Regions from separate parts of the Homo sapiens genome. Here region 2 is linked to region 1. Evidence: promoter capture Hi-C in human tissues and cell types (Jung and others, 2019). All regions are on one chromosome and are shown on one strand. Each heading gives the region's core, a stretch centred on a gene start or on the middle of the fragment in contact. The rest is flanking DNA. Distances are from core to core; before and after follow the strand shown.

Region 1 (4,345 bases), core at 1,846-4,345:
TTGCCCCATACCTGAGGCTTACAGTGCTCCTCGATCCAGCTGAAGACACACGCTGACAGCTCCTGGAAGCTGGCCACTGAGATGGAGGCATTGAAGGACTGGAACAGGGAATCCATGATGCCTTGAAACACGTTGAACTTGACCTGGTCAGAGACCTGGTCCTCCCCTTCATGGGGGTTGTCCTGGTGTGCCTTCACAATCTGCTCATAGTTCCTAAAAGCATGCAGGCCAGGGCTGAGGTGCTGCAGCAGCTCCGCCCACCCAAGAAGAATGACGGGACTATCCTGTGTACTCCCAGGAATGGCAGCCCCAGAGAGCTTCTGGGTGGGGTTCAGTATCAGGGAGATACTGCTTCCAGGTCAGGAAAGGTGGCCCTCTCTCTCCAACCTTCCTTACATTAATCCAACAGGCATTTCCTGAGTGTCTGCCATGTGTAAGGACAGTTGGGGATACACAGTCCTACTGGCTAGCTCAGGAACTAAGAGTATTATCTGTACAGCAGTAACTGATGTGGCCTTTGAACAAGGGAGGGTGTGCAATGAAGTTGCCTCAGAAGTTCTGGTTCCCCCCATTCAGCACCCCTCTTACACTTTCATGATCTTTAGGGCGGTGACATCCTTGCGTAACGTGGACACCTCCTCCTCCTGCTTTTTCTTCTCCTTGTGCAAAAACTGAATGTAGTCAATGGCTAGGGTGGGGGCAAGAAAAAAAGGACAGGTACAGAAGTATTCTCAACCAAGAAGATAAGGCTGACTTTGTTCCCCTTACCCCAGACCCCAACTATCCCATGGCAATCACCACACCAAGGCCGAGCCATGGGTGGGTAGGAGGCACTGGCCTCTTCACAGCCCCGCTTGGCTCCATCCCCTCCAGTGCTTTCCCTAGCCATACTCTTTTGTAGAACGATGGCTTTGCTGAGCTTTTGGGAGCCAATGGAGAAGTCCTGCTGCTGGCAAGTGGGGACGATGGTCTGAAGGTCATCATAGCCTCTCTGTGGAAACAGCAGGGGAAATGGGTTCTTTAACCCTGAGAGATTAAAGCAAAATGGCACAAAGTTCCTCCATGACACCAAGTTCTATGCTCACAAACTCAATGGGGTGGGAAGGCTGCAAGGGAGGTGTTTGTGCCTGGGACTATACTACCTGCCCACCCCCTAGGGTGCCTGGGACTGTCTGAGTGGGTCAGGGCACAGGGAAGCTAAACTATGCAGGGCCCTCCCGCACTGGCTGAGGCACAGGCCTCCCTGTTCACCTTGATGGCGTCCCTCCTCTTCTGCTCAGCCTGAGTGTGTGCGCGCCGCCGCCGGTCTTTGTAGGACTCCTTGTAGGCCTCCTGGTGGTAATCACTGTCCTCATCATCTACGCTCAGAGATGGGGGCAGGGAAAGGTCATCTTGGGGCCCAGTGGGGTCCAGCTAGCCCACCTTTCCCCAGCTGGGAAGAACCTGGTGTCCAGAGAAGGCAGATGGACAGAACCACCTAATGTTCCAGATGAGGTGAAAGATGGTGAGACCTTGTGTCTGATACTTTGGCTCCAGCACCCCTGTGTGGATGGCTGGGGCTTCCCTGTCTAGGAAAGGTACTACAATTATGACATATCTGAGCCCCCCGAGGTCGGGGGGGATGTTACTGCCTACCTGTGTTGGGGACAGAAGAGGCACTGGTGGAACCGATGCTATTAGCTCTGGACACTACACTCCCCTTGCGGGTGCTTTCTACAAAAAGCCCTGGAAAAGAGAGGCCCCAATCACTAAGGGGTGGGGTGGGGAACATTGCCAGACCCTCAGACACCTGTAGGACACAATGGCTTTCTTTTATTTATTTATTTTTTTTTTAGACAGAGTCTCGCTCAGTCGCCCAGGCTAGAGTGCAGTGGCGCGATCTCGGCTCACTGCAAGCTCCGCCTCCCAGGTTCACGCCATTCTCCTGCCTCAGCCTCCCGAGTAGCTGGGACTACAGGCGCCCGCCACCACGCCCGGCTAATTTTTTTGTATTTTTTAGTGGAGACGGGGTTTCACCGTGTTAGCCAGGATGGTCTCGGTCTCCTGACCTCGTGATCCGCCTGCCTCGGCCTCCCAAAGTGCTGGGATTACAGGGGTGAGCCACCGCGCCCGGCCACACAATGGCTTTCTTAAATGCTGACCTCTTCCCTTCAACCCAAAGCCAACCATACTGGGCCCCCCACTTCCTGCCAGACCACGCTGCAGTGCTCTGCTCCCTAGTGTCTACACTGCTCCATAGGCCTGCATGATACCCCCCTGGCTCACAAACGGGCATGTGGACGTGATGAGGGTGTGAGTGATCAGCTGCTCCACTGAGTGGTGAGTGATCAGTTCCACCACTTCCCTGTTCCAGAGCAGAGGGAACTAGGTGTCACCCTCAGTTGTTTTCTGCCCTTGTCCTTCAGCTCCTGCTGTCTCAAGCCAGGAACTCTGCTCAGGGAGAGTGGACTGTGCTCAGGCGTGGTTGGCAACGCCACAAGAATCTAGAGAGCCTGGGCGGGAGTGTCCCTCTAGAGCTTAAGATGGGGCAGCTACTCACCGGGGTCCAGGCTGTTGTCGCTGTAGGCATACTCCACCTGCGGCACAGAGCACGGGAAGGGCCCGTCAGACCTCCGCCCCTAGGGGGAGGCGCCCCTTCCACTGCAGGCACGCACAGCGCGCCCCCCATTCCGGGAAGGCGCCTCTGTCACCCTGCGCGCTTGCACACACACAGCCCGGGGTGCGCGGGCAGCTTAATGAGTCCCCCGAGACTGGCACAGGCTAGGGCGTGCGAGTGCCTCCCCTGTGTATGATCCCTTCCGCCCCTACTCCACCCCAGTGCCCCGTTCCCCCGACTCGCGCGCACACGCCTCGTTTGTCTCCCCACCTTGGCACACGCGGGGTGAGAGCTGTCTTCTCTGCAGCCCCGGGGCACGGAGAGCGTGGGGGACTTTGGGGACAGGAGGGAAGCCCCTCGTCTTCCGGCCCCCCTACGTGCACGAGCCCGACCCGCCCTCCCCTCGCCGGCGTGCGCGCCCACGGGGCTTGCCTTGACCCAAGGGTCCTCGGGAGAGGCGCCCGGCTCCGTCATCTTGTACCCACCGGACCGGAAACGGGCCAGCGGGCGGGCCCCCTGCGGCGAGGAAGCGGGTGGCGTGCCCACGTGACCCGCGCCCGCCAATCCGCGACCGAGAGGTGGGGCAGGGCGAAGCATCGCGCATGCGCAGCCCAAAGACTTTACTCCACGGTTCCAGCCGTCAAGGCCCGGCGCTTGGCCTGGCGCCAGCCTCCTTCGAGACTGCTCCCCGCCGTGCCTGCCCTCCCCGGGTTAGGCAGTGGAATGGCGGCGACATGAAGCGCGTTTTGTAAGATGGAGTCCCCTCAATTGGCTTGTCAGCACACCGCCGCAGATAGTGTGTGCACGCGCACTGTCCGGCCGGCCGGCTCCCCACGTTACCCTGAGGGCGGCCTCCCCGCGCTCACCGGACCTGCACTGCTGGCCGGTGTGTCAGGAACCGGGCAGAGAAGCCCCCAGCCACATCGTCCGACCCCACCAGGCTGCAAGCTCTGTGAGGGCAGAGGCCCCGCCTGGCGCGCGGAAGGCTGATCTTCCAACACCCAGCCCAGTGTCTGGCAGGATGCATGTGGAATGAACCCTTGCAAAGAACCTGCTAGCTAGGTTATGCGGCCTCTCATATTAAAAACAAAACAAAAACAATAAAACACGGCAGTACCTAGAAAGTCTACACCTTACTCAGAAGAACACAGCTGGTCAGTGGGAGGGCCAAAGCTCGCCTCTGGCTAGCCTCAAAGGCCATTCTCTTAACCACTGCATTGCCCAGGCTTCCAGCTCAGGCCTGGGCCCTGCACTTGTGGCTTAAGGATCCCAAAGATACTTAGGGGCATTGGAACAGGAAGCAGACACCATACAAGCAACATCTCAGAACATTCACCTTTAATTCTGTTACAGGTTCCAGTATTTGCGCTGGCCCTAGTCAGCTGTGGGTAAGAGTCACCCATGGGCAAGAGTGGGGAGGGGACTGCTCCCCCATGAACCACATCCTCAGTGTTGGCCAAATACCAGCGTGTTGGGTAGGCTTCCTGTGTCCACCAGGCCTGGCCATGTCCTGCACAGTATAGCTTGGACCTCTGGGCCTGAACCAGGGTGAGCATCAAGGCCCCCATTTCTCCTCACCACGGGGTCGCTTGTCAGCTCCAGGAGCCAGTCTGGCCCCACTGAGAACTTTTCAGTCGAGGGCCTGATGAGTCTTGGGAATGCGCTTCTGCAAGAGGGCCCAGGCTTTCTCCACCTTCAGACAGGCCAGGATGTTGGGAGGAAGAGAGGGCAGGGTCAGGCAGTACCCAC
Region 2 (4,345 bases), core at 1,103-3,602, 260 kb after region 1:
CCTGATGGAGAAATCCCGCGTGGTGAATGGTTTCAGGTTCCACAGGTTGCGTTCCGCTGTGAAAAGAACAGCCTCATTCCCATAATCCACCAGCAGCAGGAGGACCAAGGTTGTGGGGCTTTAGGGCAGGCTTGCAAGAGAAATCTGGGCTTTTATATAGTAGCTTGCGCTGCAGCCCCAGCCTGTAGGGAAGAAAGCCGATGCGGGATGTTCTACTCAGCAAACCAGATGAGCAGATACCAACAAGGCTGGGTCGTGGCAGAGAGGGGAGAGCGTGAAACTGCAGGAGGACTCGCCCAGCCGTCCTGGAGTCTATGGGGCTGGGGACTTCAGGTTCTCCAAAATGGAAAACAATAGAAAGAGAATACATTTCCAAGCCACAGCCCTCTCATACTAAGCTTCCCGCTGGGTACCTTCTAAGGACACAGGCCCGATGGAGGGTGGGGTGGCGGGGCAAGGGAACAAGAGACCGGGCCTTGGGGCTGGAGTGTGGGCAAAACGGGCACTCACGGGAGTCAAACTTCCAGGCGATGGTGATGCCCCCGATTTCTGAGTCACTAAAGCGCAACAAGAAGGTCCCGTCGGGCTTGTTGATGAGCAGGTCGTGGGCCTGTTGCTTATTCACAAAACCTAGGATGGCCCTGGGTGCACGGAGCATTGAGCGTCACCACTGGGCCACAGCCACAGTCTCTCTGCGCCCACAGCTGGCCCCTGACCCTGCAGCCCCCGTTCCTTACCCATCATTCCAGTGGGGCTTGTGGTGCTTCTTCAACACCTCCATCACCCCGTCAAACCACTGCCAGAAGGTGTAGTTCCAGCCCGGCAAGTTCTCCTGAGGGCCCAGGAACCCCCGAGTCAGGGCTGGTGCCCCAGGTCACAGGTGGCCCAGGAAAGTCAGGGCCCTCCTGCCCCCACCCAGTCTTCTCCCAGTTCTTCACCCCTGCTTGCCACCACACTCCAGCAGACCATAAAGTGACACAGCCCCCAACTTGTACCCTAGGAAAACAGAGAGGAAACTCACTTCTAAGACACAGGGGTCCAAGACCAGCCCAAGGGTGGGAGTAAGAGGTGTAAAGAATAATCTAGGCTGGATGGGGCCTCCAAAGTCATTCCTCCAAAGTCATCCCCTCATTTTACAGGTGGGGAAACTGAGGCACAGAGAATGGATGGGTCTTCAAAAATTAGCAAGGAGAGAGGCAGAAGGAGAGCCAGAGCCACAGGCGTGGTGGCTCACGCCTGTAATCCCAGCACTTTGGGAGGCCGAGGTGGGCGGATCACCTGAGGTCAGGAGTTCGAGACCAGCCTGACCAACATGGTGAAACCCCATCTCTACTAAAAATACAAAAATTAGCCCAGCATGGTGGCAGGCACCTATAATTCCAGCTACTCAGGAGGCTGAGGCACGAGAATCACTTGAACCCGGGAGGCAGAGGTTACAGTAAGCTGAAATCACGCCACTGCACTCCAGCCTGGGTGACAGAATGAGATTCTGTCTCTAAAAAAAAAAAAGAAAATTAGCAAACACATCTAGGCCCAGAACCCAAGGATCCTGACTCCCAGCCCTGGGCCCTCCGTCATCTCGCTCTTGGCTTCACAACTAAGCACAACTCCTATAGCCCCTGCCTGCATTTCTTGAGGCTAGGGGCCCCCATCTCTCCTGGTTGTAGGAGAGAGTGGTTGGGGGTGGAGAGTGGGGTGCTAGCCCCAGGCAGTAACCTGTCTGTGAGGTGGAGGAGCAACAGACCCCGGTGGGCCCTGGTGGGCGGCTGGCAGCTGGGCCCCTCACCCTGTTGAACTGGGACCAGGACACGGACAGGCCACTGTAGTCCTCCAGGTGGCTGCTGCTGTTGTTGAACAGTTTCTGCGCCAGGAACACGAGGTTCTCCTTGGTCAGGCCCCGGTTGCTCTGCACTTCGGCCTTGAATTTCATGTTGAGCGCCTCACACAGCTGCGGCCACAGCACTTTGTCAGGCACGGCAAATGGCACCCTGCCCTGAGAGGGAGACAAGAGAGGGGAAAAGGTAGATTGAGGGAGTTGGAAATATTCACACACACACAAGATACACAGACACCTAGAGACAGAGGAGACTGAGACAGATCCAGAAAGGTGACACAAATGCAAGGGCAGGAAATGCGGCGGCTTTTATATACTAGCTTGCACTTTTTTTCCCAGCCTGCAGGGAAGAAAACCGATGCAGGGGGTGGGGGCATGCAGGGACAGAGATGCAGACCAGGAAACAGAAAACAGAGAGCAAGGACCCAAGCCATCTGCCAAAGGAGGATCCCAGACCAGGATCCAAAGACCAAGCTCACAGTCCTCACAGACCCCAGTCCAGGAACCTGGAACCCAGAGTGCCAAGGCCATGGTGGAAGGCAGGCGCCCAGCACCCCAGCCCTTCTGGCCTCACCTCACCTCTGGGCTGGCCCTGGGGTGAGGAAGGACCACTCAGCAGGGGCCCAAGGGGTGGGGCTGACCCCAGGTGAGTCCTAGGGCCTGGGGGTGCTGGGGTAGGGCTCCCACGGGGACTCACCGGCTCAGCAAAGGCATTGTCCCACAGCACAGTAGCCGTGGCATTGTGGTCCTGGCTGCCGTGGACGATGACAACCACAGGTAGGGACAGAGTCTACAGGAGTCAAAGGAACCCAAGTTGATGGGGCGTGACCACCACGTGCCCTCTGCTTAGGCAACATGCCCAATCTGCTTTATTTTTTTTTATGTATTTTTTTTTTTGATATGGAGTTTCACTCTTGTTGCCCAGGCTGGAGTGCAATGGTGCAATCTCGGCTCACCACAACCTCTGCCTCCCGGGTTCAAGCGATTCTCCTGCCTCAGCTTCCCAAGTAGCTGGGATTACAGGCATGTGTCACCACACCTGGCTAATTTTGTATTTTTAGTAGAGACGGGGTTTCTCCATGTTGGTCAGGTTGATCTCGAACCCCTGACCTCAGGTGATCCACCCTCCTTGGCCTCCCAAAGTGCTGGGATTACAGGCAAGACCCACCACCCATGGCCGCAATCTGCTTTATTTTCTTCGAGACAGGGTCTCGCTCGGTCGCCCAGACTGGAGGGCAGTGGTGCAATCACAGCTCACTGCAGCCTTGACCTCCTGGGCTCAAGTGATCCTCCTGCCTCAGCCTCCAGAATAGCTGGGACTACAGGTGCAGGCCACCATGCCCAACTTTTTTCTTTTTTTTGTAGATACGGGTTCTCACTATGCTGCCCAGGCTAGTCTTGAACTCCTGGACTCAAGCAGTCCTCCCTCTTCTGCCTCCCAAAATGCTGGAATTACAGGTGAGAGCCACCACACCTGGTCCCAACCCACTTTCCTCACCCACAGTTCCAAACACAAGCCCCTCCCAGCAAAATGTAGGCACAAGCAAACAAACAAAAACTACAACCGACTTCTTCTTAGCCCATTGCCTAAATTGTCTGGGTTAGTCCCAGATTATAACCTATCAAACAGGGACCCACAGAGTCAAAGCAGGCTGTCCGATGGCATTGCTGCCAGGAGTCCTGAGGCAGGCCCCTCCACCTCTTGGGTGACCTGGAGCAGTGGGGGCAGGAGGGCTGGGGGTCTCACCTTCACCTGGAACACAAGCTCATTGCTGCCAACACTGAACTGAGACTCAAACAGGACTGTGAACTTCTCCTCTGTCACGGACTCTGCACCCCGCCGGTCAGCACGCTTGATCCTCTTCAGTGACTGCAGGGTGGGAGGTGACAGGGGAACAGGGAGATGGCGGCTGCTTACAAGGACTCAGCTCTGGGCAGACCTGCCCTCCGAGGGTGGGCCCCGTCCTCACCATGTTCCTGAAGTGGGCACTGAGGGTGCCCGTGGCTTGGTGGTACTCCATCACGCAGCAGTTGTTCAGGATCTCACCACTGCACTCGCTGCAAAGGAGAGGGGGGTCCCAGCTCCACATGGGCCCCAGGCCAGGAGCATGGTCCTGTCCACACCTCGGGCTGGGGTCTTCGCTCAGGTCAGCCCTGCCAGCAGCCCCTGCCCCGTATCCCCTAAGAGTGTTTCTTGGCGTCTTTCTGGGTTACTGACTTCTCCATCAACCTGGTGCCCAGCACCCAAGGCAAGGTCTCCAGTGGTGAGGTCTGGATCTATCATTAGAAATTCCTCGATACCAAGATTGATGTGAGGGCTTTGGGGACTTCCAATAGCTTCTAATGCACTTAAGATAAAAATCACAACCACAGTCTCTGAGGATCCCTATGGTCAACACCTACCCACCCCCCTGGCCTCACTGAATTCCTCTCCCCTCACTCAGGACATGCAAGCCCCGTTGGCCCTGGCTGTCTGCTGAACATGCCAGGCTTGGACATTGGCCCTTGCTC

Evidence for each region. Contacts are between HindIII fragments. The study calls those that stand out against the background at their distance.
Region 2: a fragment that was not itself captured here is called in contact with the fragment with the promoter of MLX in region 1 in 1 of the 25 tissues and cell types used here (IMR-90 fibroblasts).

What each region holds. Positions count from the first base shown.
Region 1 is chr17:42,565,850-42,570,194 of GRCh38, reverse strand. It overlaps MLX (MAX dimerization protein MLX), which reads right to left and starts at 3,095. Exons shown (of 8, transcript NM_198204.2): 1 at 3,029-3,095; 2 at 2,540-2,576; 3 at 1,636-1,725; 4 at 1,252-1,358; 5 at 892-991; 6 at 589-688; 7 at 12-213. The coding sequence starts at 3,070. COASY (Coenzyme A synthase) reads right to left here. Exons shown (of 9, transcript NM_025233.7): 9 at 3,918-4,289. The coding sequence ends at 4,227. RefSeq lists enhancers at 2,344-2,433, 2,309-2,816, 3,574-3,623, 3,830-4,336, 4,337-4,345 and a silencer at 2,834-3,233. The HindIII fragment of the contact is 10,895 bases long and covers 1-4,345 here.
Region 2 is chr17:42,303,889-42,308,233 of GRCh38, reverse strand. STAT5A (signal transducer and activator of transcription 5A) reads right to left here. Exons shown (of 19, transcript NM_001288718.2): 10 at 3,805-3,892; 11 at 3,582-3,704; 12 at 2,532-2,624; 13 at 1,787-1,993; 14 at 738-832; 15 at 511-641; 16 at 1-56. Among named protein-coding and RNA genes, the nearest start is that of STAT5A, 18 kb to the right of the region's middle. The HindIII fragment of the contact is 6,096 bases long and covers 1-4,345 here.